Regions from separate parts of the Homo sapiens genome. Here region 2 is linked to region 1. Evidence: promoter capture Hi-C in human tissues and cell types (Jung and others, 2019). All regions are on one chromosome and are shown on one strand. Each heading gives the region's core, a stretch centred on a gene start or on the middle of the fragment in contact. The rest is flanking DNA. Distances are from core to core; before and after follow the strand shown. Region 1 holds the start of CAMKK2 (calcium/calmodulin dependent protein kinase kinase 2). Region 2 overlaps TMEM120B (transmembrane protein 120B).

Region 1 (5,480 bases), core at 2,764-5,263:
ACAATGGCTATAATCCAATCCCAGCACTTTGGGAGCCTGAGCCTAGAGGATCACTTGAGTCCAGGAGTTCGAGACCAGCCTGGGCAAAATAGTAAGACCCTGTTTCTATAAAGAAATTAAAATTTTAGCCAGGCATGGTGGCATGCACCTGTAGTCTCATCTGCTCTGGTGGTTGAGGTAGAAGGATCACTTGAGCCCAGGAGTTGGAGACTACAGTGAGCTATGATAGCACCACTGCCCTCCACCCTGAGCAACAAAGTGGGATCCCATCTCAAAAGAAAAAAAAAAAGAAAAAAAAAGCTGGGCGCCGTGGCTCACGCCTGTAATCCCAGCACTTTGGGAGGCCGAGGCAGGCGGATCATCTGAGGTCAGGAGTTCGAGACCAGCCTGGCTAACATGGTGAAACCCCGTTTCTACTAAAAATACAAAAAATTAGCCAGGCCTGGTGGTGTGTACCTGTAATCCCAGCCACTCGGGAGGCTGAGGCAGGAGAATCGCTTGAACCTGGGAGGCAGAGGTTGCAGTGAACCGAGATCACACCACTGTACTCTGGCTCGGGCAACAAGAGGGAAACTCCATCTCAAAGAAAAGAAAAGAAACAAAGCAAAGCAATAAGCAATATAAGACCCTCTGATTTAAAGGAAAATCTGAAATAGCATTTGCCCCAAATCCCCAGGATCAGGAAATGAAATGTTTCCCATAACCACCAGAAGAAAGTATGCTGGGGCGGGAAGAAGATCACAGGTGACCCTGAGCAAATTACTCAGCCTCTCTGAGCCCTTCATATAAAGAGGCTTCCATAAAATGAGTTGATAGAATAATGGTGATTCTGTGGCCCATGTTAAAATTTGAGCCAAAATGCCTTGAAAACAGGCTTGGCCTGCCCCACTTGGCCTGGTCCTCTCCCCTGAGAGTGGTGTCTGGCCACTCATCTTCCATCTAGGATGAGGTTCTCAAAGAGGAAACCCCCGGCTACTGCACAAAGTTCCCTGCTAGGTCACCCCACCCTATCCCCTTCCCCTCCTACTCCCATCCCATCTCCCATTTCTGGCCCATCCTTCAAGGCTCTGCACAAATGACACCTCCTTCAGGGAGCCTCCCAGATTCACACCAGTCTGAGGAGATTTCTCCAGAACCCTCAGTGCCCTGTGCTCCTTCGATCACAACAGCACTCATTCCTTGTGGTGTTTCTCAACAGTGGCACTGCTGGCATTTGGGGGAGGGTGATTTTTTTTTGTTTTTTGTTTGTTTTTTGAGAGGAAGTCTCCTTCTTGTGCCCCACGCTGGAGTGCAATGGCACGATCTCAGCACACTGCAACCTCCGCCTTCCAGGTTCAAGTGATTCTCCTGCCTCAGCCTCCCAAGTAGCTGGGATTACAGGTGTGTGCCACCACGCCCAGCTAATTTTTGTATTTTTAGTAGAGATGGGGTTTCACCATGTTGGCCAGGCTGGTCTCGAACTCCTGACCTCAGGTGATCCTCCTGCCTCGGCCTCCCAAAGTGCTGGGATTACAAGCGTGAGCCACCACGCCCAGCCAGGGGAGGGTGATTCTTTATGTCGTGGCCCTGGCCTGCCTACAGGACACTTTAGTAGGCATCCCTGACTCCCGCCCACTAAAAGCCAGGAGTGCTTAGCATCATTTTGACAACCAAAAGTCGCCCCCACACTTTCCCAAATCCCTGCCAGGAGGGTGGGACCACCCCCGGATGAGAACTAGTGCATTGTTATTAGTGACTATATTTAGCTACCAGCCCACTAGCCATATCTAAGGATGGGCAGTACTACAGACCCTGCATAGAGCTGCATCGGCAAACACTGATGTAGTGAATAAACAAAACAAAACAAACTCCTGGGCTCCTCAAGAAGCTCAGGGCAGCCTTGCCAGGGTCTCTGCTCTTGAACAGGTGCACAAAGGTTCTAAGGCCTGACATGCCTGCACTGGCTGTGTGACCCTGAGCAAGTTACTTAACTTCTCTGAGCCCTTCTATAAAATGGGGCTAAATCCTAGCAACACTGCAGGATTTCTGTAAACCTCAGTCTCCTAATCTCTACTATGGGGTTAAAATTCCCTACGTTGTAGGATTTGGTAGGCATTAAATGAGATAATGCATGTAACACATAGCACAGAATCTGGCAGGCAGCAAGAACTCAATAGATGTTAGTTTTTAATACTGTTATTATTATTATTGTCCAGGGCCAGGTGGCAGCTCATGCCTGTAATCCTAGCACTTGGGAGACTGACGTAGGCGGATCACTTGAGGTAAGGAGTTCAAGACCAGCCTGACCAACATGGTGAAACCCCTTCTCTACTAAAAATACAGAAATTAGCCAGGCATGGTGGTGGGCGCCTGTAATCCCAGCTACTGGAGAGGCTGAGGCATGAGAATCGCTTGAACCCGGGAGGCGGAGGTTGCAGTGAGCCAAGATTGTGCCACTGCACTCCACCCTGGGCAACAGAGACTCCGTCTCAAAATAAATAAATAAGTATTCTTATTATTATCCAAGTTAGGGGCTCATCAAATGATGGCTATTACTCTTCATTACAAAAATATGTTTTGCGTCCTCATCACCAATGCCTGCTTCCTCCATAGGAAGGGTGTGTGTCACCAATGCCTGCTTCCTCCATAGGAAGGGTGTATGAGCAGCAGTCTGGAAGGGGTATGTGGGGCTTGCCCTAAAGCTGCATTTGCATGGCATGCACACTATTTATTCTGAAACTGCATGTTTTTGTGGGGTGATTAGGGAAGAGGGTGGCTAACTCCCCCAAAGCCCTCCCCTTGTTGCAGCCCCCGCCTCCTCCAAGGAACAAAGGAGCTTATGGGGACATAAAGCCATCCTCTTCTCTCTCCTCTGGGGGCAGAGCTAGGGGAGGGGGAGTGGTAAATGGCAGCACAGCTCTAGGGCACCTGAAGTTTCTATCCCCTGCGTGGAGACTCCAAACACCAGGCTGGGGAAGGTAAAAGTAGCCTGTAGGGAGATGGACGCTGCAGGTCCCATCCGGAGGCCAGGTATCCCTCTCTTGCTGATAGCACTGAGACGCCCTCCCCAAAGCTCAGCCTTCTCGGGGAGATCGGAGGGGCTGAGCTGCATCCTGTCCAGCACTAAGTGAGAGTGGCCAGGAGGGCAGGCTGGCAGAGCTGTGAAAGCACCCACTTCCCCAGCTAGGCAGTGCAGGGGCTGGGGGAAAGCCAGGAAAAGCTCAAGGCTGGGTCGGGTGGCACCCCAGGCACAGAGCCCCAATGCTGAGAGGGGCTGGGTCCAGTGTCCCTGAGAGTCAGGCGGACGCCTCTCCGCATTCACAGCATACTGCAACCCCGAGGTGAATTTAGGTCAGAAGGACCAAGCCTGTGAGGCTCCGGCTGAGAGAAGAGGTGCGGTGGGGGTGGTCAAAGGGCAGACCGAAGACAGCCAAAGGTCCCCTAGGTCCCCACAACTGCTGGCCTAGGGTCCTGCCACCTGGTGTCCAAGCCACCAGGGCCTGGGTTTGCCCCGAGACAGGCAGGCTGCGGGGTGGGGGTGCTCCAAGTCCGCTGGTCCTCTCTTCCCCGGAACGCTCCAGATTTCCCCACCTGTCAAACGCGAGGGGCTGGGCCTAGGCCGCCTCCACGAACCCTGACGGACCCGGCCCCCGGTGACCCCGGTTCCAAACTCCAGGACCGCCCCTGCCACCCGGACAGGGCGCGGCCCAGCCGAGGAGGCCATCCCGAGGCCCAGGGCGCCCAGAGGACGCGGGGGAAGGGCTGTCGGGGACCGTGTCCCTCCACGTGGCGGGGCGTGGGGAGGCGCACGTGGGGTCCCTCCGTGTTGGGAGCCCCAGGCCAGCCTCCGGGCTTTGTGTGCCATGCCGGCGGCGGTCCCCCGCCTCGAGAGGGAAACGGAGCGGGCGCCCGGGGCCGCGGCGGCTGCGTCCCTTGCCCCGGGCCCGGCTACCGCCAGCTCACCTGGGCTCCGCGCCGCCGCCGCCTCCCGCGCTCTGCGCCCCCAGCTCGGCTCGGCTCGGCTCAGCTTGCTCTGCGCGGCCGCGCGCTCCTCTCCTCCGCCCGGGCGGCGGGCGCGCGGGGGGCGGGGGCGGGAGGAGCCGCCCGGCTCGGCTTGGGCGCGTCGCCGCCCCGGGCAGCGCGGGGATTGGCCACGGCGGCGGGAAACCCGAAAGCGGAACCGCCCGCGCCCGCCGCGCACCGCCCCCTGCGCGCCCCCGCCGGCTCGGCCCTGCGCCGGGGAGGGGTGGGGAGGCGGGAGCCTGCAAAGACGAAAGTAGCGAAGAGGCGAAGGGCAAGGAGCAGAAAGGGAGGAGGCGAAGAACGGGGGAAGAGAGGCCCGGCCGGGAGGATCGGAGGCGGCTGGGAGGAGAGCCTGGAGGGGCGCGGAGCGCAGGAGGTGGCGCCGCAACTTTGTACCCGCTCGCCCGCGGCGCGCACCTGCCCAGGTTCTTCCCGCGGCGCCCTCGGGCGGGCCGCGCCGGCAGCGCTTGCTTTGTTTAGCCAAATGCCGGGGCTGCAGGGCGCCTCCGGGCTGACCCTGGGAAAGTTCCCCCAAGCCGGCAAGAACACCCGGGGCCCCTCCTGTGGCGACCCGGCTGCTGCCCCTGCGCTAGGCGCCGGGCGGTGGATGCGGCCTGGACTTTGGGCCACCACCGACTCGGGGGAGCCCCCTTCCGCAGCTGCCTGCCGACTGACCACTTGCTCAGGGCCGGCCCTAAAGGCTGGGGGAAGGCGTTCCTCTCCCATCCCCAGCCCACCTGGATGCACCATTGAAGTTCATTCTGGCTTTTCCAGATGGCTACTTAGATGCTTTTTGTGAAATACAGCATATTCTTCCCATTCTCCCCTTTTTGGCACTTACTTTGCTGGAGCCTTAAGTGTGCGTTGGATCCCCCAGCTGGATAACAGCACTGTGCGGGGAAGAGGAGAAACGAAGACCTGGAGGGCTCCCTGAACCGTCCTACGGGGTCGAGCGACCCAGGGGATGTCTCACTGACCCTGCCAAACAGCCAAAAGGGAATCGAGTTGACAGGAGAGTCAACCTCCAAGTTAATAAAAGGTTCAAAGCCCTCTAGTTAACTGGGTGGATTTCCAGCCCGTTCCGATGTGCTTCTCTTGTATTTCTAGGCCGTAGGGACACTCACATGCAACGAGCCAATGAGAGCTCCACCCCGACTCCCTTTTTTTTTTTTTTTTTTTTCTTTTCTGAAACGGAGTCTCGCTCTGTCGCCCACGCTGGAGTGCAGTGACGCGATCTCGGATCACTGCAACCTCTGCCTCCCAGGTTCAAGCAGTTCTCTGCCTCAGTCTCCCGAGTAGCTGGGATTACAGGCGCCGGCCACCATACTTGGCTAATTTTTGTATTTTTCGTAGAGATGGGGTTTCACCATGTTGTCCAGGCTAATCTTGAATTCCTGACCTCGTGATCCACCCGCCTTGGCCTCCGAAAGTGCTGGGATTACAGGTGTGAGTCACCGCGCCCGGCCCACTCCCATTTT
Region 2 (5,480 bases), core at 1,201-3,700, 420 kb after region 1:
ATGTACCTATAATCCCAGATCCTCGAGTGGCTGAGGCAGGAATTGCTTGAAACTGGGAGGGGGAGGTTGCAGTGAGACAAGACTGTGCCATTGCACTCCAGCCTGGGCAACAGAGCAAGACTCCGTCTCAAAAACAAAACAAAACAAAAAACAGCAACAACACTTAAGAGCTGTGCAATTAATGCAATTAACAGCAATTAGATAGCAAGTCTTGGCAGGCAGAGGTTGCAAAGGAGTTGTTTGACTCTTTCTTAGGACTTGGTCCTCAGATGCTGAGGTATGTTAGGGACAAAGGGATTGGGAATCAATTCTTGATTTTGTTCCCTGGTGCACAGCAAGGGTTGTAGAAGAAGGTCTGAGTGAGTGGAAACTGATGCCTCCTGCTCGGTTCATGATGGGGGAACTAGAAGGGACTGCATCCTACTTTGGGGAAGAGGGAGCCTGCTTGCTGCAGGCTTTGGTGGTCACCTGCTGGGTCAGGGGCCAGTCAGGGATGGCTCCCGGTGTCAAGATCATAGATCGGAGCAGAAACTGCCATCTACATCTTCAATTCACAGATGAGGAAACTGAAGCTTGGGCATGCTGATTCCCTGGACGGGGGCCACACAGCTAGTTAGTGGTAAAGTTGGGGCCATAATTTAGTTCTCTAAATATTGGTAGGCCCCTCTCTGCCTTCTCACGTTCCCCTTCATGTTAGATGTGAGAGCTCTGAACTCTCAAGATGCAAGGCTCTGGGACTCTGTATATGGTAAGTAGGATGTCCATTGCGTATGTGCTGGGCAGTTTCGGATACGAGATATTTGTTGGGAGCTCGGTGCATTGGCTCATACCTGTAATCTCAGCACTTTGGGAGGACAAGTTGGGAGGACCGCTCCCAGCAGGATTGCCCAGCAGTTTGAGACCAGCCTGGGAAACATAGGGAAACCCCTGTCTCTACAAACAGTAAAAAAAAAAAATTGCTGGGTGTGGTGGTGCATGGTTGTGGTCCCAGCTACTAGGGAGGCTGGAGTAGGAGGGCTGTTTGAGCCCCAGAGGTCAAGGCTGCAGTGAGCCATGATTGCACCACTGTACTCTAGCCTGGGTGACAGAGTTAGACCCTCTCTCTCAAAAAAAAAAAAAAAGAGATTTGTTGGGGAACAAGCAGGTAACAGCAGGTAGGTAGGTGGGCACACTGAACTAGAAAGCTTAACAATAGGAAGGATTTTTTTTCTACTAGAAAATCCTGGTCTATTTTAATTTTCCTACATCTTCCTTAGAATCCGGGTTGAGGGTTTCATATTTGTATCTCATTGATTCTGGGGTGATGTGTAACAATGTGTAATGTCTCTGTGTCTTACCTCTTTTTCTCTTTTTTTTTCTTTCTTTTTTTTTTTTTTTGAGACACAGTCTTGCTCTGTCGCCCAAACTAGAGTACAGTGGCACAATCTTGGCTCACTGCAACCTTTGCCTCCCGGGTTAAAGCTATTCTCCTGCCTCAGCCTCCTGAGTAGCTGGGATTACAGGCACCCGCCACCGTGCCCGGCTAATTTTTATATTTTTAGCAGAGACAGGGTTTCACCATCTTGGCCAGTCTGGTCTAGAACTCCTGACCTCGTGATCCATCTGCCTTGGCCTCCCAAAGTGCTGGGATTACAGGCGTGAGCCACTGCACCTGGCTTTCCTTTTTTGAATGAAGGAAAGAAAGAGCAAACCTAATTCTCAGACCCCAGAAGATTTGAAAGATCTTTGGAATTTCCCTCCTCCCCACCCCAAGAAAACCCAATGTAATCTCTGGGACTGAGGAGAGGAAAGGATCAGTTTTCTTTGGACTGTGATTTGCATGTGTCAGGGCCTTCCTGAACCCTGGGGCACAGTTGAGTCTCCATGAGGACTTAGTTTTTGGGTGGCTGGGGTTTCAGGCATGCTGGTGAGTTGAGTGCTAGTCTGAGACCAGTGTGCTCCTGGTCTCCTGGCCTGTGGCGTGACCGCAGAAGGTCACTTACAGACACAAGGGCAAGTAATTTAATGAGCATTTCCTGCCTTGCATCACTGGAAACCTGATCTCGTTCCTCCCAGCCAAGGAAGAAGGTGGCCCGTAGCAGCTTTTCCCTAAGTCTGACCTCACAGTGATGCAAGGGCCTTGAAGGCCATGGTAAAGATTTTGGCTTTTACTGCTAATGACATGTACATCCGTCTGGCTGCTGTGTATAGAATAGACATCAGGGAGACAGGCTCGAAGCAAGAAGATCAGCATTATTTCATTAATAACCCTATGAAATTGATCCTAGAATCTCTGTTTTACAGAGGTTAAGTCACTTATCCAAGGTCACATGGCCTGTCAGTGCAGGAGCCAGGATTCGAACCCAGGCTGTTGAACACCAGTGTCTGTGCTCTTAACTACTGCCCTAGGCTCATCTGTGCCCTGAGTACTCCTGTTAGCTTTTGTTTCTCTTCTATCTTGGCTTGTGGGGCGTCTTTCTTTCTTTTTTATTTGAGACGGAGTCTCGCTCTGTTGCCCAGGCTGGAGTGCAGTGGCTCGATCTCAGCTCACCACAACCTCCGCCTTCCAGGTTCAAGCGATTCTCCTGCCTCAGCCTCCCGAGTAGCTGGGATTACAGATGTGTGCCACCACTCCTGGCTAATTTTTGTATTTTTAGTAGAGACAGGGTTTCACTATGTTGGCCAGGCTGGTCTCGAATTCCTGACCTTGTGATCCGCCTGCCTCAGCCTCCCAAAGTGCTGGGATTACAAGCGTGAGCTACCGCACCCAGCCGGGCATCTTTCTTTAGTAGCAGATTGTGCAGAAAAAGACACTGCACAGGGAATCAGTATTCTTGAGTTCAGGTCCTAGCTTTGCCATTGTCTAGTATCTGAATTTGGTGAGCCACCTCTCTCAGGTTGAGTTTCTTTATCTAAAAACAAAGGCTGACAATAATAATAATCATAACAACAACAATAACAATAATAGCTAACTGCGTGAAACACAGATTATCCCATTTAATCTAAATATCAACCCATGGCCTGGCGCAGTGGCCCATGCCTGTAATCCCAGCACTTTGGGAGGCTAAGGAGGGCAGAGCACTTTGAGCTTAGGTGTTCAAGACCAGCCTGGGCAACATGGTGAAACCCCATCACTATAAAACAAACAAACAAACAAAAAACAAAAAAAAACCTTAGCTGGGCATTGGTCGCTCGCTCCTGTAATCCCAGCTACTTGGGAGGCTGAGGCTGAAGAATCGCTTGAACCCAGAAGGCGGAGGTTGCAGTGAGCCAAGATCGTGCCAGGGTACTCCAGCCTGGGTGACAGAGTGAGATCCTGTCTCAAAAATAAATGAATGAGTGAATGAATGAATGACAACCCTGTTTTTTAGATGAGGAGATTGAAGCTAAGAGATGCTGAGTAACTTGAAAGTCATGGAGCCAGAATTCGAACCCATGCCTGCTGTATAACTCAGATACTAATACCGTGGGCTCCAAAAGTATCCTGAGACTCTTAGCTCTAGAAGAAAAGTTTTGAACTTGCTGGGTCCCTTTTCATTTATATAGTGCTTTCACACAATGCACTATCAGGACTCTTAGTTGCAAATGAAAAAAACCCAGTCTGACTGGTTTTAAGCCAAAAGAGGGTTTATTGAGTCAAGTCTAGTGGCAAATGGCTTCAGGCAAGGCTGGATCCAGGAGCTCAGGTGATGTCTGTGTCTGTGTGTGGATGTCTCTCTCTCTCTCCTCTGTGTCAGCATTATTCTCAGGCAGTCCCTCCCATGTTGTGGCAAAGATGGCCAGGTGGCCCTCAGCTGACATCTGTCAGCTTAGCAGCTCTGGCAGAAACAGAGCATCCTTTCCCCCTGTGGTTTCAGCAAGCGTCCCAGGGCTGACTCTCATTGGCCCAGCTTGGGTCATGTGACTATGCCTTACTTAACCAGTCACTGTGGCACTGATTGGCCAGGTCACGGTCACATATCTGCTCCTGAAGCCTAAAAGTGGGATCAGTGCCACCACACTACATGAAACGAGTTGGGGAGGGATGGTCCCATGAAGGAAAATCAAAAAGCTGGTAGTTTAAAAAAAAAAAACAGAGAGAGGGATGCTGGACAGGCACCTTTTGGGGGGCTAATAGAAATTGTTGGCTGGGTGTAGTGGCCTATGCCTGTAATCCCAACAGGAGGCTGAGGCAGGTAGATCGCTTGAGCCCAGGAGTTTGAGACCAGCCTGGGCAATGTAGTAAGACCCTGACTCTACAAAAAACCACAAAAATTAGCTAGGCATGGTGGCGTGCACCCATGGTCCCACCTACTTGGGAGGCTGAAGTGGGAGGATTACCTAAGTTCAGGAAGTGGAGGTTGCAGTAAGCTGAGATCCTGCCACTGCACCCCAGCCTGGGTGACAGAGTGAGACCCTGTCTCAAAAAATGTTTTTTTCTTCAAGGGAAACAGTGGCATCGATTGGACACTGCTTAAATTGCTAACGGGGGTAGTTTAAGGGGGTGGTTCACAGTTGCATGTTAGGCCACACTGCATTCTTTTTTTTTTGAGACGGAGTTTTGCTCTTGTTGTCCAGGCTGGAGTACAATGGCTCTGTCTCGGCTCACTGCAACCTCTGCCTCTCGGGTTCAAGTGATTCTCCTGCCTCAGCCTCCTGAGTAGCTGTAGCTAGGACTACAGGCACATGCCACCACACCTGGCTAATTTTTGTATTTTTAGTAGAGACAGGGTTTCACCATGTTGGCCAGCTGGTCTCGAACTCCTGACCTCAGGTGATCTGCCCACCTCGGCCTCCCAGAGTGCTGGGATTATAGGCATGAGCCACCTTGCCCGGCCCACACTACATTCTTGATGATGTCACATCTTTGTGACAGTGCCTAGCCTGCTGCATGCACCTCATCTCCTAGCTCTTTCACAGCTGATGACACCGAGGCACAGAGGGATTACATAACTCAGCTAATAAGTGGCAGGCTCTGGATCTGAACTCGGGCAACTTGATGGCAGCATCAAATCACTTAACCATTGTGTTTTCATGCCACCCAAATGCGTGCCTCCCACGCACAGACCCCCACTTACCGCTCCCGTAACATACCGTTCATGGATTCTGACACATGACTCAGAATCTGTCCCGCACAGGACGCATACACGTTAGGCGAAGTCATCCTTGGTGGTGTTTCTATGGTGATGAGTCCTGGTTAAGTATAGTCAGCGTCTGAAAGTCTATTTGAAGTTGATTTCTTAGAGCTATATAAAAGTAATCTCTTGTCCAGGCACAGTGGCTCATGCCTGTAATCCCAGCACCTTGGGAGGCCAAGATAGGCAGGTCATTTGAGCTCAGGAGTTTGAGACCAGCCTAGGCAACATGGCAAAACCCCTGTCTCTACAAAAAATACAAAAATTAGCCAGGCATGGTGGCACAGGCCTGTAGTTTCAGCTACTCGGGTGGTTGAGAGAGGAGGATCGCCTGAGCCCAGGGAGGTGAAGGCTGTGGTGAGCAGCCATGATTGTGTCACTGCACTC

What was found. The method cuts DNA at HindIII sites, captures the fragments that hold promoters and counts their contacts. A contact is called where the count stands out against the background at its distance.
Region 2: a contact is called between a fragment that was not itself captured here and the fragment with the promoter of CAMKK2 in region 1, in 1 of the 25 tissues and cell types used here (spleen).

Annotation. Positions count from the first base shown.
Region 1 is chr12:121,292,696-121,298,175 of GRCh38, forward strand. It overlaps CAMKK2 (calcium/calmodulin dependent protein kinase kinase 2), which reads right to left and starts at 4,014. Exons shown (of 17, transcript NM_001270485.2): 1 at 3,943-4,014. RefSeq lists a silencer at 3,550-4,699. The HindIII fragment of the contact is 15,221 bases long and covers 1-5,480 here.
Region 2 is chr12:121,715,204-121,720,683 of GRCh38, forward strand. All of the region lies in intron 1 of TMEM120B (transmembrane protein 120B), which reads left to right. Among named protein-coding and RNA genes, the nearest start is that of TMEM120B, 5.2 kb to the left of the region's middle. The HindIII fragment of the contact is 4,558 bases long and covers 172-4,729 here.